7 separate regions of the Homo sapiens genome follow, and all the other regions are linked to region 1. Evidence: promoter capture Hi-C in 16 types of primary human blood cells and fetal thymus (Javierre and others, 2016). All regions are on one chromosome and are shown on one strand. The core of a region is centred on a gene start or on the middle of the fragment in contact, and the rest is flanking DNA. Distances in the headings are between cores, read along the strand shown. Region 1 holds the start of HOXC-AS2 (HOXC cluster antisense RNA 2). Region 2 overlaps GPR84-AS1 (GPR84, ZNF385A, ITGA5 and GTSF1 antisense RNA 1). Region 3 overlaps ITGA5 (integrin subunit alpha 5). Region 4 holds the start of COPZ1 (coat protein complex I subunit zeta 1). Region 5 holds the start of NFE2 (nuclear factor, erythroid 2). Region 6 overlaps COPZ1 (coat protein complex I subunit zeta 1). Region 7 overlaps GPR84-AS1 (GPR84, ZNF385A, ITGA5 and GTSF1 antisense RNA 1).

The links. Contacts are between HindIII fragments. The CHiCAGO score rates a contact against its expected background, and 5 or more counts as called.
Region 2: a fragment that was not itself captured here is called in contact with the fragment with the promoter of HOXC-AS2 in region 1 in 7 of 17 cell types (naive B cells, total B cells, erythroblasts and 4 more); the score reaches 7.8 in naive B cells.
Region 3: a contact is called between a fragment that was not itself captured here and the fragment with the promoter of HOXC-AS2 in region 1, in 1 of 17 cell types (naive B cells). The highest score is 5.3, in naive B cells.
Region 4: a fragment that was not itself captured here is called in contact with the fragment with the promoter of HOXC-AS2 in region 1 in 2 of 17 cell types (naive B cells and total B cells); the score reaches 6.8 in naive B cells.
Region 5: a contact is called between the fragment with the promoter of NFE2 here and the fragment with the promoter of HOXC-AS2 in region 1, in 13 of 17 cell types (naive CD8 T cells, non-activated CD4 T cells, total CD4 T cells and 10 more). The highest score is 17.7, in naive CD8 T cells.
Region 6: a fragment that was not itself captured here is called in contact with the fragment with the promoter of HOXC-AS2 in region 1 in 3 of 17 cell types (total B cells, naive B cells and erythroblasts); the score reaches 6.5 in total B cells.
Region 7: a contact is called between a fragment that was not itself captured here and the fragment with the promoter of HOXC-AS2 in region 1, in 1 of 17 cell types (total B cells). The highest score is 5.3, in total B cells.

What each region holds. Positions count from the first base shown.
Region 1 is chr12:53,994,875-53,998,099 of GRCh38, reverse strand. HOXC-AS2 (HOXC cluster antisense RNA 2) reads left to right here and starts at 1,315. Exons shown (of 3, transcript NR_047505.1): 1 at 1,315-1,430; 2 at 2,191-2,267; 3 at 2,582-2,892. RefSeq lists an enhancer at 2,315-2,883. The HindIII fragment of the contact is 15,520 bases long and covers 1-3,225 here.
Region 2 is chr12:54,357,392-54,360,315 of GRCh38, reverse strand. All of the region lies in intron 1 of GPR84-AS1 (GPR84, ZNF385A, ITGA5 and GTSF1 antisense RNA 1), which reads right to left. It also overlaps a transcript of GPR84 not described here. Among named protein-coding and RNA genes, the nearest start is that of GPR84-AS1, 5.2 kb to the right of the region's middle. RefSeq lists silencers at 690-869, 1,020-1,089, 1,100-1,339 and enhancers at 897-1,721, 1,722-2,546, 2,547-2,924. The HindIII fragment of the contact is 3,720 bases long and covers 1-2,924 here.
Region 3 is chr12:54,402,395-54,405,452 of GRCh38, reverse strand. It overlaps ITGA5 (integrin subunit alpha 5), which reads left to right. Exons shown (of 30, transcript NM_002205.5): 12 at 79-287; 13 at 559-750; 14 at 978-1,023; 15 at 1,207-1,308; 16 at 1,487-1,542; 17 at 1,674-1,828; 18 at 2,129-2,266; 19 at 2,403-2,470. All of the region lies in intron 1 of GPR84-AS1 (GPR84, ZNF385A, ITGA5 and GTSF1 antisense RNA 1), which reads right to left. Among named protein-coding and RNA genes, the nearest start is that of ITGA5, 15 kb to the left of the region's middle. The HindIII fragment of the contact is 8,596 bases long and covers 1-3,058 here.
Region 4 is chr12:54,323,480-54,326,750 of GRCh38, reverse strand. It overlaps COPZ1 (coat protein complex I subunit zeta 1), which reads right to left and starts at 1,620. Exons shown (of 9, transcript NM_016057.3): 1 at 1,570-1,620. The coding sequence starts at 1,587. The HindIII fragment of the contact is 3,244 bases long and covers 1-3,231 here.
Region 5 is chr12:54,299,411-54,302,348 of GRCh38, reverse strand. It overlaps NFE2 (nuclear factor, erythroid 2), which reads left to right and starts at 1,334. Exons shown (of 3, transcript NM_001136023.3): 1 at 1,334-1,548. RefSeq lists an enhancer at 447-1,187 and a cis regulatory region at 588-1,562. The HindIII fragment of the contact is 10,882 bases long and covers 1-2,938 here.
Region 6 is chr12:54,339,751-54,342,658 of GRCh38, reverse strand. COPZ1 (coat protein complex I subunit zeta 1) reads right to left here. Exons shown (of 9, transcript NM_016057.3): 2 at 2,044-2,112; 3 at 372-453. Among named protein-coding and RNA genes, the nearest start is that of MIR148B, 4.0 kb to the right of the region's middle. The HindIII fragment of the contact is 170 bases long and covers 1,362-1,531 here.
Region 7 is chr12:54,426,389-54,429,372 of GRCh38, reverse strand. GPR84-AS1 (GPR84, ZNF385A, ITGA5 and GTSF1 antisense RNA 1) reads right to left here. Exons shown (of 4, transcript NR_120487.1): 3 at 1,448-1,516. Among named protein-coding and RNA genes, the nearest start is that of ITGA5, 8.6 kb to the right of the region's middle. The HindIII fragment of the contact is 155 bases long and covers 1,339-1,493 here.

The sequences.
Region 1 (3,225 bases), core at 66-2,565:
ACTGAGCTGGGAAGCCCAACTTACAACAAGAAACAGAATATCTCTTTGGCCTTGATGGAGTTGGGTTAGCTGTCAATCAAAAAATCTCCCTCACTAGTTCAAGGAAAAGACAGGAGGTTCCAGTCCCCCTGCCGAGGCTTTCTCCAAATCCCCAGTACAGCCAGCACCTCCCCCAGCCCAGGGCGGCTGAGGACCGGGCCCGGCACTTGGGCGGCTGCTGGCAGCGATGAGCAGAGACGTTTAGCCCTCAGCGGGGCCCGGGGCCAGACTGAGACCAAGAGGACATCAGGGGACAGAGCCTGAGAGAGACTGAACCCGAGACAGCCTGGGACAGACCAACTGAAACATGGAGTCAGGCCCAAGAGAGGAAAGAAGGAAGCGGAGCATTAGAATAAAGGGAAAAAAGGGGGAGAATTAAAAGAAGGAAGGCAAGATGAAAAGAGATAGGAGAGCCGGGAAAGGCAGGCGTGCAGAGAGGGAGGCGGAGGAAGGGCGGCCGTAGGCAGGCAGGACGGGGCAGGGGCGAGCTGGCGGAGCAGCCGTGGCATTGTGCAGCCCGCTGGCTTGCCGGGCCTTTGCCGCGGGACCGGCTCCGGGCGCGGCGGCCACTTCTGTCTGGACACAAAGGCGGAAGAGGGCTCCTCTCCTGCCCCTCCCAGGAGACTTGCTCGGATGGGTACTCTAGGCCTCAGGGATATAGAACCCCATATTGGTCCAGACAGCCGCTTAGGCAGCTGGGGGCTGAGCCCTGCTCTATTCAAGGAGCGAAGAAACAGAAGAGGAAAGAGGTTTCACCCCTGCTCTTCCTTTGCGTCTTCTCCAAGCGACAAGGCCAGCTGCCCCAGCCTCAGCTTTCCTGGAGGAAAGAGTCCCTAAGGAGCCTCCCCTATGGGCCTCTGCTATTTGGGAGAGTTCCTCAAATAGACATTGGGGCCGTAAAGAGATGCCCCCTTCTCTCCTACCCCCTTTGAACACCGCCTTCTTTTCAACTCTTGAGCTGCCTGCGCACCCTGCCTGCCCACTCTGCGGAGGCGGCAGCAGCGGGCAGTGAGGCTCACCGGCGGGATCCCTGCTGCCGTGAAATCCCCTGTGAAACCAAGGAGATTGTCGCTTTCCTTTATTTTATTTTATTTTCTGGGACTATGACCTCCGAACTCTTCCCACTCAGAGGCAGGCACGGCTGTGGATCAGGAAGCAGGCCTCGCCCACAGCCCCTTCCCAGCCAATGCCTCATTTTCCCTGCGCCCTTCGGAGAGAGGCGGCCTTGGGGAGGGGGGCTAGAAGAGGCTGGGAGTTCCGGAGTCCACTGGGCGGAGGTTCCGCAGGTCCACAACTGCATGTGGCCTGTAGCCCCCATTCTCCACATTTGGAGGGGTGTGGGTGGCAGACCAGGGCTTTGAAGCGGACCTGCAGATTTCCCTCAAATCCAGGTTTGTAGGTGCGGGGGGCGGGGCACAAAGGATATAGGGGCACCAAGAAGGAAGGTCTGTCTTCCTGGGGTTCAGTTACTCCTTCTGAATCTTCTGCCATACTCCAGACTTCCCCTCACCCACATACTCCCTTCAATTTTCCTCAGCACCGCTGGGGCAAACCCAGGGACTGGAGGCCACTGGGAGTTCTTGTTGGGGAGGGGGAAACCCCAGCTTTAGCTCGCAGCTGTGCATTCACTCTGGTTCTTAGAGTTCCCTCCCACCCCCAAAAGACTTCACTGGGCACAGGAGAGACCCCTGAGGGGGAGGGGCACCCTTACTCCATCACCTGAAACCTGGGCAGCTGCGGCCACAACCAAACTAGCACCGTGGGAAGGACAGACAGAAAGATAGACAGGTTAGAGTCGTCCCCTCCCCCTGCCCCGCGCCTTCCTTTTAGTGATTTAAATTCCCTCCGGTTCAATCCACACCGTCAAGTTCGGATTAAATTTAAAACAGGCTTTCTCCGGTGTCCCCAGCGGGCCATCCCGGCTGCCGCAGGCAGGGAGCCCGCTCCCGGCTCGTCAGCACCCGCCCTGCGCGGAGAAGGCCGTACTCCATTTGCTTTCATTTTCCTTCTCCCCCTGAAATGGGCTCATTTCACCTCTCCACTGCCCTCTTCCCCTCCCCGCCCCCTCCCTGGTTCCCCTCTACTTTCCCCCCTTCTCTCTCCTGATCCCTCTTTGTTGGGAAAAACACACCCACACACAACTCCTCCTAGCTAAGGCCTGCGCTGGAAGCAGAAACTGAGTTCTCTTGGCCTGCCGCGAGGAAACCCGCGTCCTGCCCCCACCCAAGGTGGGTATCTGGGATCCCTACACACCAGGAGTCAGGTCCCGAGGCCCAGCAGGAGTGAAATCCCCAGGGCCTGTGAACGTGGCTCTCTCAAAGCCACGGCCTGCCGGGCCTGCATTCCCGCCGGCGCCCCCGCCCTGACGCTCCGCAGCAAGCGGGGCTATTTCCGGCTCCCCCAACGCGGTCTGGTTTTCCAGCCTGGGAGTGGCTGGAGGGGGAGCCGCCCCAGAGCTAGAGCCGCTCCCTGCCCTGCCCGGAGCCCCAGTGGCCCTGAGCGCCTTGTTACCTGATCTTTTGTGTGATGTATGTGTCGCAAGGAAATTTGCAGTGACTTTGGAGCCCAGACTGAGGAAGCGGAGGTGGCGAAAGGAGAGACAATACGAGCCCGAAGTACAATTAAGGGGCCAGAGCCGCTCGTCTCTCCCCCGCCCTCCCTGCCCGACTGCGAGCTGTCTGGCCTCAAACCTCAGGGCGACACGCGAACCTGGAGCCGGAAACTCAGCCCGTGGCAGAGGGAGTCAGAGGACTCTGCATCCAGAAAACAGAAGCAAAGCGCCCTTCCAACTTGGGGACGCCTTAACCAGCCCCTCTCAGTTGCAGATAACCCAATGAATGAAAGTGCAAATTCCGCCGTTTTTCCCGATTTTTTTTCCAGCCTTGGGAAGGAGAGCTCAGGGTTTGGGGCGTCTCAGACAGAAAGGCAAACCGCATCTCCTGAGGCAGACAGACCCACAACATGAGTGTGAGCCTGAGATCACATACAGGTTCAACATTTCCCGAGGCCTCTTTGCCAGGCCCGGCGGGCGCCGATCTCCCTACCTTCTCTCCCTCCAGGGCCTCAGGCAGAGAGACCCAGAAGACTCTGTCCCTCTGGTTTGGTCCAATCCCGCTTCGGAAGCGCCTTCGTTACCTGGTCCTTCGCTCCCCACGGCCATAGATACAGGACAGGCGGCTCCCGCCT
Region 2 (2,924 bases), core at 22-2,521, 360 kb before region 1:
CATGTAATCCTCACAAAATTACCATGAAGTATCTATTATAATTTCTTTCTTACAAATGTGAAAACTGAAGCACAAATAGGTTAAGTAATTTGTCCAAGGCCGAATGCCTAGTACGTTGTAAGACCGTGATTTGAGGGCAGAGTCTCAAATCCGCCTTTCTAAAACTAGGATCAAGTGTCCAGATGATCCCTAACTGTCCTTCCTATTCAGACCTTCTAAGATTCTGAAAGTTGACAACTCTGAAGAGTTGTAAAAGGATTCACTTTACATGTCCTTAGAAGGCAAATCACAACGGTGTCAAGTAGAAAGGTGAAGCAATAGGGATTGAGGTTAGACCTCAGAAAGGACTTCCCAATTATCAGTCGCTGGGGGGAAAAAAAAAAAACTCAGGAGACACAGAAGGAAATCCTGGGGTCTAAGACCATAGAGGACAGATCTTAGCAAAAAAGCAGCCACCCGCCACGGCCCACACATCCACCCCAGCCCCTAATTTCAATAAGGGCTGAATGAGGGGAATGAAACTGAAGAAAAGCCAGGCTTTCTTGAGGCCTTCTCTCTCTTGCGGTTGTGCTTGGCGAGTGAGGCCATGCACTGGGTCCCTCGTGGTGCGTTGCTCATGCGTGTCTCGGGATGTGTGTGTGTTTGGAGGCCCTTTATGCTCACGAGTGTGAGTCACTGTCTGTCTCTCTTTGTCTCTTTATCTCTGTCAGTCTCTCGCCCGAGTCCGAGCTCTATCCCTGACTTTCTGACGCTATCTCTCACTGCCTCTCTTTGTCTCTTTCCATCTGTCCGTCTCTCCTGTAGGCTGTCTTCATCTCCTGTACCTCTGTTATCGCCTTTTTTTTTCTCCTAAGCTCGTCTCTCCAATCCCCGCTGCCGCGCTCCCCCCGCCCCCTCCCCAGTCGCCCGCCCGGGCTGTTCTTGCTCGTTCGCACGCTCTCTCTCTTTCGCTGTCTCTTACAGGCAGATTTATGGTCAGCCCAGGGCCTTTCATTGGCCAAGCGCTGACAGAACTTGATTTAACGCCGCCTCTCATTGGCTGAGCTTGACAGGCCGATTTACGAGTCACTCTACCATTGGCCAAACCACCTTGGCCCTGATTTATGGCTCAGCAGCCGCGGGGAGGGGGGTGCAGCTGCTAGGGAGTGAGGAGTGAGGATGCCCCTCCCCTCCCCTTCCCGCCGCGTCCCTCCTCCTCTCCCCCGCTTTTTTCCCCTCTTTCCCTCCCCTCAAGGAATGGCGCTCCCTCTACCTGTTCCTCAGGCCCCCTCCTCCCTTCTCTTTCGTCCACTGGGAGGGGAAACTGGGGTGTGGTGGTAACGGGAACTGAAGGGATGATGGGGTCTGAGGGTACACATGGGCCGAGGAGTCGAGTTTGAGGGGTGTGGATGGGGGCCGACAGGGAGAGCAGAGGAGACTGAACAGGGAGAGAGGATTCCGAGCTGAGGAACGAAGGGGAAACTGAGAGGGCAAAAGGATGACAGAAAGAAAGGAAGGTTGAGGAGAGAAGGAAGGCAGGGGAAGAGAGAGAGGGTTAAGGAGCTAAATGGGGGGTTGGGTAATTTGTCCAAGATCCGAGAAGAAAGAAGGAGAGATGAAGAGAAAGGACACATTTGAGGGGCCACACGGGCTGAAGCAGGGAAATCGGGCATCGAGAGAGGGACTTTTCAAATCTCACTATCCAGACTGAATAAGAGACGGAAATTTCCTTTTCACACAATGGCTCTGAAAAGGAAAAGCATTAGAGAAGCAAAGACAGAGAAAGGCGCAATAGGGAGGTGAGAGAGAGGGAGAAGCAGGAAAGGACAACTGGAAGGTAATAGCAAAGAAAAGAGAGAGGGAGAGCGACAGAGAACTAATGGGAAAGACCAGGAGGAAGGTAGGTTTTTGGTTTTTTGTTTGTTTTTAGGGGAGGGAGGAAAGGTGCCGTGAGAGAAGACTACTCCCCAACGGAAATATTGACAGAAAGGCTCCTCCTCCTCCCCTATGAAGACCCATTGGCGTCTGCAAGGGGACAGACGAGTCAGGCGCCTCCCCCAGGAGATATTCTGCTTCCTCAAGGCTGCAGTAAGCTCCCCATCCCATGCACCTCACTCCTCCCCTTGCCCACCTCCCCAGTTAAATTTATGAGTCCAGGGTGGCCTTCAGGAATTAGGAATATTTATGCTTCTTTGAGAGTGAGATTTAGAAGGTGATAAATAAGGGTCCACTGGGGGGTGCAGCTGGGGGCTCCTATTTTTAACATGGCCATTTTCCCAAGGCCCCACCCACACATTCCCTCTCCTCCTGAGCCAGAGAAGGAAGCACAGACGGAGGTGAGGAATGGGTTTCAGGTATCAGGAAGAGGGGTTGACTATCCTGTAGAGCCCCTCAGAGGACTGCAGAGCTTTGCAGCAGAAAGGATTGAAGGCAGATAGGGGAGGAACTTTCCAAGCATCCTGGCATTCGTATAGCCCCTAGTGTGCAGTTACAACATTTTTGCAGAAGGTGGGGAGAAGCCCATTTCCCCCCTGTCCCCTTAAGCTCAGTTGCTGAGGAATAGGGGAGATAAGCCAGAAAATTCAGAGGCAGATTTCTCTGGCCTGTCACCATCCTCACAGGAAAGGAAGATTTGAAATCCCCCACCTCCACAGACCACAGCCTGGATCCCTGGGAAAGGAGGCTAGGAATGTGGGGCTCAGGGCATCTCCTAGGAGTCTTGGCCTCCAACCTGCCCACCCTCACTGCTGCTGAGAATTAAAAACAGCCAATACTTCTTGACATCCCTTGCTCTGGGCCTCCAGGAAATTGAGAAGGGGTGGTGGATCTGCCTATGGATCCACATACCTTCTGCAGCCCTCAGCTCTAGAAGCCATGTGTCTGTGACCCCCCAACCCAGTGAAAGGGCTTGTTCTGGGTTTGGGTGGGTAGTGAACAAAGATGGA
Region 3 (3,058 bases), core at 134-2,633, 410 kb before region 1:
CCGGGATTTCTAGCACTAGGATTGGGGTGGGGTGGCAAGACAGGGTATCGAGATGCCTGGGTTTGCCCTTCCCCTCAGGCTGGATGACTTGCTGGTGGGGGCACCCCTGCTCATGGATCGGACCCCTGACGGGCGGCCTCAGGAGGTGGGCAGGGTCTACGTCTACCTGCAGCACCCAGCCGGCATAGAGCCCACGCCCACCCTTACCCTCACTGGCCATGATGAGTTTGGCCGATTTGGCAGCTCCTTGACCCCCCTGGGGGACCTGGACCAGGATGGCTACAATGGTGAGTACCATGGGCTCAGAGAGTGAAAGAGGAGGCAGGGGCCCAAGTCAGAAGGGATTTGGGGAGAGGGCATCTGTCAGCTAAGATACCCAGACCTCCACGACTTCCCGAGGGGTTAAAATCCCACTGTCTGGGTCTTGGGATTTGAAGATTAGAATATAGGGACTGACAGATGGGAAAAAATAGGATCCTAGGTCCTGGGGTCTGGTAGTAGAGATTAGAGCCCATGGATTCCTGGCCTGCTGACTAGTGTGTGTTCTGTGTCTTCCAGATGTGGCCATCGGGGCTCCCTTTGGTGGGGAGACCCAGCAGGGAGTAGTGTTTGTATTTCCTGGGGGCCCAGGAGGGCTGGGCTCTAAGCCTTCCCAGGTTCTGCAGCCCCTGTGGGCAGCCAGCCACACCCCAGACTTCTTTGGCTCTGCCCTTCGAGGAGGCCGAGACCTGGATGGCAATGGATATCCTGGTGAGTTGTGCCTGAGGCCCCTTTTCACCTTAAAATTCCCTGGTCACTGACCCCTACTCTCTCTTCTGCACCTTTCCTTAAGTTCCTGGGTGCAGTTCTGGCTAATTCCAACAGAGGGCGCTGTCTTCTCACTTCAACCTCCCTGAGCGTTGAAACCAGGAGGGGTTAGGAAGAAAGGATCCTGATCTGGGGCTTGCTGTAAGAGGTGATTTCTTGACTTCTTACAGATCTGATTGTGGGGTCCTTTGGTGTGGACAAGGCTGTGGTATACAGGTATGAGCTCCAAAGGGAGATGAGGGGACAACCTGGGTGGACTGGAACTGGAAATTTCTCAACAGAGCTGAGGTTGGGAAAATCAATGCAGAGGACACACATTCTGGCGCTTGGGCATCAGTTTCCTGTGTCCAGGTTACAGAGGAGTCCTAATTCTATTGACCCCACATTCACTCTTGGCAGGGGCCGCCCCATCGTGTCCGCTAGTGCCTCCCTCACCATCTTCCCCGCCATGTTCAACCCAGAGGAGCGGAGCTGCAGCTTAGAGGGGAACCCTGTGGCCTGGTGAGCTGGTGCCCAGGAAATTGCAGAGACCTGAGCCTGGGAGTGGGCAGGGGCACCAAGTCTGCCTTAAAAAGGGGAAAATGGTGGTGTCCTAGTCTGGGTCTGGCTGGGAGATAGGTAGAGGATAGGATGTCTGTTCCAGTTGGATTCACCAGCTTTCTTCTTGGTCTCTCTCCAGCATCAACCTTAGCTTCTGCCTCAATGCTTCTGGAAAACACGTTGCTGACTCCATTGGTGAGGGAGACTGCCTGGATCTCTCAGGCCCTAGGACAGAGAATGAAGGGACTGGGGACCTGGGGACATTTCTTCTCTCTGAAAAGATGAGGAAAGACAGGCAGTTTCCCTTTATATGTCCCTGGCTTCAGGTTTCACAGTGGAACTTCAGCTGGACTGGCAGAAGCAGAAGGGAGGGGTACGGCGGGCACTGTTCCTGGCCTCCAGGCAGGCAACCCTGACCCAGACCCTGCTCATCCAGAATGGGGCTCGAGAGGATTGCAGAGAGATGAAGATCTACCTCAGGGTATGGCCCAGAGGGCGGGGTGTGGACTGGCCAGGGAGGGTGGCCACACAGAACTGAGGGCACCTCCTGAAGGGAAAAAGACTGGGGGACTCCAGTGAAGGGCTTGGGACTCTTGTAGGGGCTGAGAAAGGGAGACCTTCTGTCAGAGGAGCTGGGAAGCAGGCTGCCAGGGCCTCTGAAACAATGAGGATGGTCGGAATTGGGCCCTAAGCAGACAAAGGGAGATGAGAGAGGCTGAGGAGCAGGGCCACTAAGTCTCCAGAGTCCCCTGACTCCGTGAACTCTCTCCTCTGGCCCCAGAACGAGTCAGAATTTCGAGACAAACTCTCGCCGATTCACATCGCTCTCAACTTCTCCTTGGACCCCCAAGCCCCAGTGGACAGCCACGGCCTCAGGCCAGCCCTACATTATCAGAGCAAGAGCCGGATAGAGGACAAGGTGAGGACAGGGCAGGGAGAAGGGACCTGGGAAGACAGAGGCCTGGGTATTGGGGGGGCAGGGCCATGGAAAGAGAAGAGCCTACAGCCCAGGAATGGGTCTAAACTTCCCCTCTCAAGGCTGCCCTGCTCCCCAGGCTCAGATCTTGCTGGACTGTGGAGAAGACAACATCTGTGTGCCTGACCTGCAGCTGGAAGTGTTTGGGTAAGTAGGGCTGACGGTAAGCTAGGGAGCTCCAGGTGCACCTGGCACCTGAAAAAATCAGCTAGGGACATACTAGCTGTGTCGCCTTGGGAAGTTGCTGAGCTGCTCTGAGCTTTAACTCCTTTGTCTGTATAGTGGGAATAGTAGCATTTATTTCTCAGACTTTTTGGAAAGATTAAATGAAATAATCTACATAAAAAATCTAGCCTAGTGCCTGCCATAGAGTTAGAACTCAGTAAGCAGTGTCTATTGTTACTTTATTATTACTCTTTTTTTTTTTTTGAGACGGAGTCATGCCCTTGTCACCCAGGCTGGAGTGCAGTGGCGCAATCTCGGCTCACTGCAACCTCCGCCTCCCAGGTTCAAGCGATTCTCTGCCTCAGCGTCCCAAGTAGCTGGGATTACAGGTGCCTGCCACCATGCCGGGCTAATTTTTTTATTATTATTTTTAGTAGAGACAGGGTTTCATCATCTTGGCCAGGCTTGTCTTGAACTCCTGACCTCGTGATCCACCCGCCTCAGCCTCCCAAAGTGCTGGGATTACAGGTGTGAGCCACCACACCCGGCCTCGTATTACTACTCTTATAA
Region 4 (3,271 bases), core at 360-2,859, 330 kb before region 1:
GCCTAGAGTTCAAGCCAATTAAGGAAGAAGGCTGGGAGTTAAATTCCTACACTATACTACCTACCTACCTACACACACACACACACACACACACACACACACACACACACCCCTCCAAATCGCAAAATAGGGCACTTTTGAGAGAAATTCTCTGGTCCAGTTCTAAAAAGGGGTAACAGGTATTTTATTTGTTAGAACAAGCATAAAGCATCATATGGACAAGAGGGCTAATACAGCCCTTTAGCGACCACAATTCTCATGTAACCAGAGAGGGAGAAATTAGCATCCTAGATCATACAATAAGAATTCCTGGCCCGGCGCAGTGGCTCACGCCTGTAATCCCAGCACTTTGGGAGGCCGAGGCGGGTGGATTACGAGGTCAGGAGATCGAGACCATCCTGGCTAACACGGTGAAACTCCGTCTCTACTAAAAAATACAAAAAATTAGCCGGGAGTGGTGGCGAGCGCCTGTAGTCCCAGCCACTCCGGAGGCTGAGGCAGAAGAATGGCGTGAACCCGGGAGGCGGAGCTTGCAGTGAGCCGAGATCGTACCACTGCACTCCAGCCTGGGCGACAGAGTGAGACTCCGTCTCAAAAATAATAATAATAATAATAATAATAATAATTCCTGGCCAGGCGCGGTGGTTCAAGCCTGTAATCCTAGCACTTTGGGAGGCCGAGGCGGGCGGATCACTTGAGGTCAGGAGTTCGAAACCAGCCTGGCCAACATGGTGAAACCACGTCTCTACTAAAAATACAAAAAAAATAGCCGGGCGTGGTGGCACGCGCCTATAGTCCCAACTACGCGGGAGGCTGAGGCAAGAGAATAGCTTGAACCCGGGAGGTGGAGATTGCAGTGAGCCAAGATCGCGCCACGTGCGCACTCCAGCCTGGGTGACAGAGCAAGGCTCGGTCTCAAAAAAAAAAAAAAAAAAAAAGAATTCCTAAGGTCTAAATGGGTAGAGAAAAGGAGAACAGAATAAGGAGTCTAGAAAAAATATTCCACAATCCATGCTAACTTTATCAGGTATCCCAGAACTTTGATGGAATACTGATTATTTGACAAACCTATATAATAGGGATTAACAGGAAACCGAAGACAAAACAGTTTCCTGAAGGAATGTGGCAGGGAATCGGCAATGGAGAGTCAAACTTGGGAAACCATCAGGAGGAGTCTGTAACGACAAAACATCTGTATTCTTTTCTTACAATATGGGGCGAGTTTGGTGGTTTGGTAAATTAAAATCAGGGTATCATCCACAATGCTAAAAATAAGGGGCAACCTGAAGGGTCCTAATCCAGTACGCCTACAGGTCTGTGTATCCTAAGGAGTCCATGTGCTGCCTTCAACTTTCCACCGACTCTATGCCCTCTCCCCGGCAGGGCTTCCTACTCTAAACCAAGGCTTTAGCTCCTACACTAGGCCACACACTTATTCCAAAGGTCAGCAGAACGCTCAGTCCCCAAGAATTACCCGGAACTCTCTTTCCCCGTCTCCCACTCGGGCTGAACCCTGACTCCCGGCCCCTGTGGACACCACAGCATCTCTGCTGCCCCTCCAGCTCCTACCAAAATCAGCGCCTCCATCTTGCCCCGCAGCTGGTGCCGACGTGGAGCCGCAAAAGAAACGCCGCCGCTGATTGGCCATACGTTCCCATTAGGCCCCGCCTAGGATAAGGATCATTGGGTAAGGCTTGCTTTATTGGCCAATTATTGTACTAGCTTGCTTACCGGAAGCAAAGTGTCCAACCAGAAGGCTCAGGTGTTTGATTGTCAGCTTGAATACTCAATAAAACGCCAAAACCTCACGACTCATTGGGGCGGGAGGGTTAGTGGGGCGGGGTTGTTTCCATGGGGAACAGAAGAAGCGATTGTTAATTTTCAATTGGTAGGGCCGAGGACACGTGATATTGTCGGACTGATTTAGCGATTTTTAAACCGCACCCTCTTTAGGGGGCGCTGTGTCTCCTTAGCCTTTAACACTGGCGCTTTCTAACCGGAATCCTGCCCTAATCCCTATTTTCAGCGCCCGCATTAGGTCCATGATCTCTGTGGCTAGCCCTTCCCTCATGCTCGCTCAGGTCACTTCAGCATCCTCACAGAAAGTCTGCACAACCATAGAGTAGAGCCAAGAAAGGCCCAACATGTTAACTACATAAACCAAGGCTGCCAGGAGTTGATAGTCGCAATAACAATCTCCCTAAGGTGGAGTTCCAGGCTTTGCTGGGCCTGAGGAACATGAGAAGTCAGTTTGTAAAGGCCAACTTGAGCTCAACGTGAAATCGGCTTTGGAGATGGGGTTTGCGGGACAAACGGGGAAAGGGATGGGATTAGAATAAGAGAGGGGTTATAGGGAGTAAATTCTGGGGTTTTCCAATAGAAACAAGCCGTTGTGCCTGGGCGCGGTGGCTCAAGCCTGTAATCCCAGCACTTTGGGAGGCCGAGGCGAGCGGATCATCTGAGGTCGGGAGTTTGAAACCAACCTGACCAACATGGAGAAACCCCGTCTCTACTAAAAAAAAAAAATACAGGCCGAGCGTGATGGCTCACACCTGTAATCCCAGTACTTTGGGAGGCCGAGGCGGGCGGATCACGAGATCAGGAGATCAAGACCATCCTGACTAACATAGTGAAACCCCGTCTCTACTAAAAATACAAAAAATTAGCCGGGCGTGGGTGGCGGGCGCCTGTAGTCCCTGCTACTCTGGAGGCTGAGGCAGGACAATGGCGTGAACCCAGGAGGCGGAGTTTGCAGTGAGCTGAGATCGCGCCACTGCACTCCAACCTGGGTGACAGAGCGAGACTCCGTCTCAAAAAATATACATATATACAAAATTAGCCGGGCGTGGTGGAACATGCCTGTAATCCCAGCTACTCGGGAGGCTGAACCAGGAGACTCACTTGAACCTGGGAGGCGGAGGTTGAGGTGAGGCGAGATCTCGTCATTGCACTCCAGCCTGGGCAACAAGAGCGAAATTCCATCTCAAAAAAAAAAGAAAAGAAAAGAAAAGGAGAAGAGAAGAGAAAAGAAAAGGAGAAAGAAAGAAAAGAAAGAAAGAAAGGAAGGAAGGAAGGAAGGAAGGAAAGAAAGAAAGAAAGAAAGAAAGAAAGAAAGAAAGAAAGAAAGAGAAGGAAAGAAAGGAGAGGAAAGAAATGAGGCGTTGCAAAATGAGAAAAGAGAAGTTTACTGAATGCAAGAATTTCACAATAGGGAATGATTTTGATGAAGCTTGGCTTTCCCCTATCCCTTGGTTTCCTGATCCCTGACTCC
Region 5 (2,938 bases), core at 85-2,584, 300 kb before region 1:
TACAATCCCATCAGAGCATGCTGGTTGAATGCCAGTCCTACTCCAGAGTGGCACCTATCTGCTTCCCCAGTCTTCAGATGTTTCTAATTTAACTTGAACATTGTAAGAAGAAAAAATGTAAGCTGCAGATGTCAGGATTGAAGCTAGACATATAGAGCTGAAAGCCATTACAAATTAGGAGGAAGAAAGGCTCTTTTCTCACAGTCTGTGGAGAAAGATGTTTGACCTGGGGCTTTGGTGGTGTAGCTTGCAGGCAAAAAGATGAATAAGTGGGCTGGGTGAGGTGGCTCATGCCTGTAATCCCAGCACTTTGGGAGGCCAAGAGGGGAGGATTGCTTGAGCCCAAGAATTCAATACCAGCCAAGGCAATATAGTGAGACACCACTTCTACCAAAAAAAAAAAAAAAAAAAAAAATTAGCTGGGCATGGTTGCACTGACCCATAGAACCAGCTACTTGGGAGGCTGAGGTGGGAGGATTGCTTAAGCCTGGGAGTTTGAGACTGTAGTGAAACATGTTCACACCACTGCACTCCAGCCTGGGAGACAGAGTGAGCCCCTCTCTGGAAAAAAAAAAAAAAAAAGATGAATAAGGGTACTTACTGGCCTAACAGAGTTGGGTGCCATGTGGCTGGGGTGCTTTGCCTGGGAGAAAGGAGGACAAAGGACACCTGGGGTCCCCTTTACGGGAGGTGAATAATCTCCCTGCTGGGTGGCCCCCCACCTAACTCCCTTCACACACTGACAAAAACCTGGCCAAGAAAGAATCCTTTGTCCTGGGACTTCTGAGGCTGAGGGGGGAGGGGAGAAGGCTACAGGTGAAAGGACACATCAAAGCAGTCAGTTGCCCCTCCTCCTCCAAATAGTTCCCCTGCCCTTGTTCCCAGAGCCCAGGTTTTCTGTAAATGAAGGCTATACCCTAAACGTCCAACTGCCTAGACAGCTGGGAAGCTAGACACCTGGTCCTTACCTTCAGCTGCCTTCCACCTTGATATGACTCAGTTTCCCTGTCCCTAGGAGAGCCGTGGGGACACAAGGCGACGACAACCTGTATAAAGTTTAAAGGTCACATTCGAGTGGACCATCAGGTTGGAATTCGTCAAATGCATGGGAGAAACGCAGACCTGGCTGGACTCCTGGGCTGAAAAGGAGGGCTGGGAGAGGCTTGGAGCCATGTGTGCCCCCGCTGGCCAGGAGCAAGGTGGGGGCGGGGTGTGGGCAGAAACCACATCGGGCTCAAGTTTCCTCTCTTGGCCGAAAGGGGCAGGAGGAGAGGAGAGCCACGGGGAAAGGGGAGGGTTGGAGGAAGGACTGAGAACTCAGGCCGAGGGCTTCAGACGCTGGTGCGCCTGCTTGGGGCTCCTGTGCTCAGCTCAGCCTGAGCTTCCACACTCAGCGCTCAGCAATGGCCCGGGGGCGGGGCGCGGTCCTCGCAGATTCTCAAAGGTAGCCGGGATCCTCGTCCAGCAGTGTCAGCTCAGGCTCAGCCTCCCCAGAGACAACACCGGGAGCCTCATCTCTCTCCTCACCCTGCTGTGACTCCACCACAGGTGCCTGAAAGGCAGGGTGTGTGTGGGGGGGGCGGATTCCAGTGAGATCCGAGGGGCAGGCTGGGGGGTGAAGGAGGTGAGGGGGGAAAATAACCAACTTTCGGTATCCTAGGAGACCTCAGACTTTCTAGATTGCCCCTGGTTTAGGAATCTGACATATTTGGGAACTCCTCTAGGAGAAGACCTAAGTGGTTTCTTGGGTGCTCTGGGATCCTTGGGGTGGAGGCTGTGAATGGGGATCAGAGAGGGGTCTCCAGAGGCAAGGCACCGCTGAGGGGCTGGGGAGTAGCCAGGAGGAATCCTTCAACTGGTGGGCTACCCTGAGGGAACCAATAGACTACCCTTTCCCCAACTCCATTCCATTACTCTGCCCTGTCTAGGCAGCTGAGAAGGTTTAGGGAAAGCTGAGGAATTGGAAACACTGGATATCTGAACCTCTGAGAAGTGTTGCAAGGTGCGGGGGTTGGATGGGAGATTGCCTCTGGGTTGTTGGCTCCTTTGCCCTTTCTCTTCTCTGTGCCCAGGGGCAGTAGAGATCAGCTGGACCTGGAGGGAGAAGGAAGACATCCCAACCCCAGCATAGTTGCTTCTAACTGGAACTCTTGGCTGCTTGGGAAATAGGGGCTTGGGAAGCAGTGGAAGAGAAGAGAGGAGGTATCAGAACTGCTGGGGCTGGGATCCCCTAGACATCGGTACCAAAGGACTGGAGTTTGGGGTCCAGGGATGAAGTGACACAATAGCAGAAACTCGTCCCCCTCTTCTTTGTTCTCACACATTTGTTTGAGTCATGCATGTCCCTAGGGCACTGAGCTCACTATGCTTAAATCTCTCTCCCTCCTTTTTTTCCCCTTCATTCTGTCTCATCTCTGTGTGTCTCTCTCTCTTCGGGAGTTCTCCCTAATCTTTCTAAATAGGTTGCTTACCGGTTAACCAATACCCCAAGTTTTACTAATCCCTCCTCATCCTTTCACTGCACCTATTGACACCTGGAGAGGTGAGGTGGTCAAATAAGCCTCAGAAAAGGGATCCTGAGGCAAGCCCCCTCTCATCGTTCCCCCTCGTTAAGGAAGTTAAGAGCCCTGGGGCAGCAGCTAAGGCCAAATGTATTCCTCTCTCCATCATCCCTCTCCGAATAGTCCTCACTCTGTATTCCTAATCATGAAGCTCCGTATCATTCTGTGAGTACTTAGGGATTATGATAAAAATCTTTCTGGGTAGGACCACCAGGCTAAGAGTAAGGAGGATGGACTTTAGTCCCTGGTGACAACCCCATTTCTACCTAATCCATAATGTTGGGGAGTAAGAGAAGGAACAGACAACCCAGTGGGAGTAAGATGGTGGTGTGACCCCAAAATGCAAAAGCTAAACTGTAAAGTGGGAGCTTCTTATT
Region 6 (2,908 bases), core at 197-2,696, 340 kb before region 1:
ACTTGTATATGAGACAGGATACTAGTCGATCCTTCGGAGGTGAAAATGCAGAGCGGTCACCTTTACAGACTTCCATTTACCTGCCCTAATGGATGCGGTACAATAAGCAGAGCTGCAATTAAATTTGTCAAGTGAGGCTCATAAATCCAGGGACTAGACAGGTAGCTAACAGCCAACCTTCCAGCATGGTATTCCCGCGTGAGGTACACTCACCTCCCCATTACATTCTGAAGAGTTTATTATACAAGGGGAAGAAGGAAAAAAAAAGAAAAAGGCAGAGTCATTTCATCCTTTCTCTGCAGCCCTGTTACCACCCCCTTTCCACCATGGTTCCCCCCAGCACGGGTAGTAGTGAAAGGAAAATGACCTACTGTCAGTCCGATGGGTCTTGTTGAAAATGTTCTTCTCAAAGGCCTTTTGCTCCTTGACACTGGGGTAGGTGTCGTCATAGTACTGGTCAGAGGGAAAGAAGACAGGGTTGGGTCACTAGAGCTGGAAGCCAGAATGATTAGTGACTATGTTTTGCCCTGGGATCTTGGATTTCTCTCCTTCAAGGCATGGGGCAAGGGAGAAATACTGACATGGAAAAGGAAGGATTGTAGAGGCAGAGAATGGGCAGTGAGTAATCCAAGAAAAATAAATAAAAGACCCTGCCATAAGCAACCCCACCTCACATTTCCAAGACTGTCTGAAGGCAGAAGCCTACCAGCCCTACAGTGAGGCTCTGCAGCTGTCTGCAATCTAGACCTCTCCTAAAACCATTCTCATCAAGTGTTTCCTAGGAGCTACCCCATGTCAGGAAGCAGTGCCAGAGAACACAAAAAACACTAGAAGCACAGAACACTTCCATAGACCCTCACTCACTGTATGAAGCTGAGGAATGGGGAAAGGCTACAAAAACCTCCTCCAAAGAAAGGCAAACCCTGCCCTATGATCTATCTTAGCTTTCTTTTCTGCAAGCTGAAAGAAGCATCCAGCATACCACTGAGCCCATTCCCAGGCTCTCCCTGGCAAAGGGGGCGGAGATGCAGGCTGCTAAATCGCTAGCTCTTTAGGGGCTAATCCGTCGCAGTCAGCTGAAGACCCATGACAGGTCTGGCATTTAGTAACTGGATAACTGTTTCAAAAGGTGTCCTGCATAGTTACATCCAATTACAGGGAGGAACAGCTGGTGAATTCTAAACTAATCTCTACCTGCTGATTGATTTATGCTACGCTCGCCCGGAGTTAATACACCAGGGACAGAAGAAATTTCTACAGGAGGGGGAGAATATGGAGGGAGAGAGGGTGTCCTTTCTTCTTTCTTCCAACAGATCTAAAGTTGGAAACATCACTCTGGGAAAGTCAGGAGGTAACAAGCTTGATGGTGACTATAAACCTAGGAATGGAAACCTGGAACTGCAAGACAATTCTCTGGAAAAACCCAGGCAGGGTGACATGGTATGAGGGAAGGGGACAGGAATGATGGACATGGGCGGACTGCCTCTTAGCATCTACATACTGCTTTGTTAGGAACCAAAGTTTCAAAGCTTTTCCCTGATCTGATGCTGACAACAAAGGAGGTCAAAGTCTGAGGACAGCAAGCAGGGCAGCAGTACAACTAAGGGACAAAAGAAAACAGGTTTTATCTGGAGTAGGCAAGATAAGATGGAAGAATTCAGGCCGGGTGTGGTGGCTCACACCTGTAATCCCAACACTTTGGGAGGCCAAGGCGGGCGAATCATGAGGTCAGGAGTTTGAGACCAGTCTGGCCAACCTGCTGAAACCCTGTCTCTACTAAAGATACAAAAAATTAGCCGGGGGTGGTAGCGCGTGCCTGTAATCCCAGCTACTTGGGAGGCTGAGGCTGCAGTGAGCCAAGGTCACGCCATTGCACTCCAGCCTGGGTGATAAGAGCGAAACTCCATCTCAAAAAAAAAAGATGGAAGTATTCTCAAAATTATACTACTGAGGAACATAAGTTAATAAGGTATCAGTCCCAAGATTCAAATCTCAGAATAAACCTTTGTGCTGTTCCTAAACTAATTCGAAAGGGAATCTCACCTTGGCAAAAAGTCGATCTCCATCATTGTCCAGAATCAGGATGGCTTTGACAGTATACAGGGAAGGTTCCTGAAGAGATACGAACATACCTTCAGTCCTGAAGCCTCCCATCACCACTGGTAAACCAGATACCTTCCCCTAGTCCCACTGGGGCTGCAAGGGGATACAGAGGTACCTCTGTAAGTCCCTTACCTCAACTTGGTCAGATTTTGATATTTCCCATTGAGAAAGACCCAGGGTAAGTAAACTGAATTGACAGAGAAAGCATTTAAACAAAGGATTCCAAAGTACCATCAGAGAAACAGTTTCTCTGACTCACAGGGGGCTTAATCAAGAGAGGTCATGCTGTTATTTCCAAATATTATGGTACAGTTATTTTCCAAATTACCCTCTCCCTTCCTGCTCTCCCATGTACAGGTGGCTATAGAATGTGACCAGATTAATTAAAAGGCACTGAACAAAGCCATTTGAAAATAGGGTTGAATGTCCTAGTATACTTGGAAGTTTCTGCAGTCCGAATGCAGTAGCAATGCAGAAGCATAAAGCAAGCCTTCCCTAAACCACCCACACACTAAGCAGAGGGAAAAGAGCGTTTACACACACACACACACACACACACACACACACACACACACGCACAGGCACACCAGTTCTCAATGCAGCCTAGTAAAACAGCCATCTTCAAAAACTCTCCTATGTTCTCCAATTCTTCCACTATACCTTAACCACTACCACTTAACTTCCAAGGACAAAAGCCAACCTGAATTTTGGGGGAGTTAAGAAGCAGTGAGAAGATGATCTATCTGAGAAACACTCTGGGGCCTAGAGTGAGTGAGCAAGAGGGTAATTTTTTTTCCACTACCAA
Region 7 (2,984 bases), core at 167-2,666, 430 kb before region 1:
CCAAACCAGCCCATCTGGCCCCTGTGCAGTCTTACCCTTATCCAACCCCCAGCTCTACCCCTGGGGCCCAAACCTGGGTGTAGGGGAGGGAAGAAAGGCAAAACGTGGCCATTTTAGGGCAGAAGAACTGTTAGAGGGGAGAAGGGGTGGGGGCAACAGGGAAGTGGACCCAGAGTTGGGAAGCTCCTTATTGGGAAAGGCCCCTGTCTGATTCTGGGAGACAGAGGCCAGGCCTGGGCACTCAGCCAAGTCCAAAGAGCAGGCCCCAGGCCCTAGTCCTGGCCCCCAAAGCCAGCACCAGTGAAGAGACTAAATGTTCAGTTGCTTTGGGCTCTTCTCCAGACAGTCACAGGACACTTCCCCTACCCCAACCTCACCTATTCTGACAAAATACCCATGGTGATTAAAGTAGCTAGAACCAGGAGTACAACGTCTCTGTGTATATATGTGTGTGTTGGGAGGAGGGAGAGACTCATGCTTCCGGGCCATAATAAGGTCAAACCACTGTTCCAAAAGTGGCTGTCTCCAGGACACTGCCCACCACCCACAACCCCCACTACCTCCCCCCAAGTCCAACGGCTGGCTGTGAACTCCTCCTACAGGAACCCAGCCAGTTCTGGGGAGACTGCTGGTGAGGGGGGGCCCAAGGGTGAGTAACGGTTCCCGTGGGGATCGGGGTGCCCATGACTAATCAATGAGAGGGTGAGAAATAAAACTTACATTCCTTGACTTGTAGGGCAGTAGCTGGAGGTGGGAGGTGGGGCAGGGGCAGACTGAAGCAAGGACAGCCAAGTAGGGACGCAGAGCGGGAAGCGAGGCTGAGGTGGGGGTAGGGAGTCCTTCCAGCCCTGCTCTCTCCATATCTCAGGCTGAAGGAGAGGCAGGCCCCAGGTAACCAAACACCTGGGTTTCTGCTTCCCATCCCCTGGCAAATAAGCTTCTCCTCCAGTTCATTCAATCCAGGGCTACAGACTTTGAATGGGCTGAGGGAAGGGCACACTGACATCTCATTTGCATTCCTCAGCCCCTGCCCCACTCATCTAGGAGTCCCTATGCCCAGAAGACCCGGCTTGGAAAAACTCCGCTGTGCAAGGCTGAGAGCCAGACTAAAGGCATAAAAGCGGAAATGAGCTGGGAGCCAAGATGCTGAGAGAAGGAAGGAAGCCAGTCTGCTGCCACAAAGGAGTCAGGAAAGAGAGGGAACAAACAGCCAAGTGCTTCCTGCCCATACCCTTCCCTGCCTCTCCACCAACCTCCTCCAGCCTGTCCAGACATCTCAGGCCCAGGGCAGAGTAGGGAAAGGAGTGCAGAGACCCACACGAAACGCCCTCTAAAGCTTCCAGCTCAGCAGCCTTCATGGCAGAGGCCGGGGCTATTCTCACAGCAGCCCCTGCATCAATAGCTAGATGATCACTCCCATGTTAGCCAGTTCCAGAAGCTCCCTTACCCCAATTTCCTCCACCAAAGTGACCCGTTCCTCTCTGTTTCAAGCTTGCTTTCTCTGGCCCTCCAGTATCTGCAGTTGAAAGAGAACACCATGAGTTTGGGAAGGGATGTGGTAGTGGGGAGGGTTGGGAGAGTTGTAAGAACAGGCAGCCCTCTTCCCCAAACTGCTATCTCACCTCCCACTGCACTGGCAAGAGAGCAGGGGCAATCACACCTCACACACACACACACACACACACACACACACACACCCCCAACTTTAGCCTATTGACAGATCAGGATACAGATACCCCACCCATGCAAATACACCAACACAAGCATGTTCAGGTTTTCAGACCATACACACACAGAGAGGGAGATTTTCACCTCACAGGCACATTCACATCACACAGGATCTTTTCCCAGCCTGGCCAGCACAAATGGTGAACATGGGAAAGATGTAGAAACCTGGGTCAACTTGGGCCCAAAATATATTCCAGCTTTGGCCCTTCTCCAGGTCTGTTTCTCCATTCCTTGCTACTCCCCCAGGGCTTTCCCATGCAAAACACAGGAGAAGGCGGAGAGGAGGCACCTGAGGGTGCTCTGTTCCTAAGCTGTGATACTCAGTCAACTCTGTCTGGGTTTCTGGAACCCAGCCCCCCTCCCTGAGGTGATCACATGGAAAATGTCCAGCTGCGGTTGCTTGGAGAGATGAGCTCAGCCAGTCTGAGTGGGGCTGGGGGCCTGGACTCAGCGTCAGACTTTCCACTTCGGACCTTACCCCTCCTCCCACCTCCAAATACCACTCCAGGGATTCAGGAGCAGGAAAGGGGCCAAAGGGACTTCTGACACAAATGTCGCAGTCTTGGACTGGTTCAGAGGGGAAGGGTGGACACTGATGAAGGGCGGAACAGATCTGGAAGCACCTCTAGTCTGCTTCATTCCTGCCCACCCACTTCAGGGAAATAAATCCAAAGATGGACCAAAAAAGACAAGGGAGACTAGGTTGCAGTGTAATAAGTGGGGGGAAGATGACTTCAGAAATTGGTCCCCCGGGGTGGGAGTGGGAGGGCAGGGAACTCAAGAATAGATTCAACTCAATGACCCCAAAATGACAAAGGACATAGAAAGCTGGGTCCTAAATGGGAAGCTGGGGGTGGCAGAGGAAGGAGCAGACCAGTGTTACACTGCCTCTCATTGGCCAATGAAGAGTTCCTGACCTGGCAGGAGGAAAGGATTAGTCTCTCCATCCAGTCTTCCAAAGTATATTTCCCACTCTCCATGACTCTGCACCCCTGCCCTCCCTCTCCTCACGTTCCTTTCCCTCTGTCCCCCATCTCTATTATGCGCTTCCCCTTTCCTTTCTCCTTTCCTCTCTCCTACCATCTTTCTAGGATCCTCCTTCCTGGTTCCTCCACCCCCTTCTCCTTCACCAATCCCTTGCCCCTCTGTCTTTTCCTCTCGCGGAACCCTCTCTGTCTACCTCTTTGCTCTTATTTATGTCTCCAACCTCACCCATTTCCCCCTCCTTCTCCCTCCTTTTTCTCCCCAGCATAGCC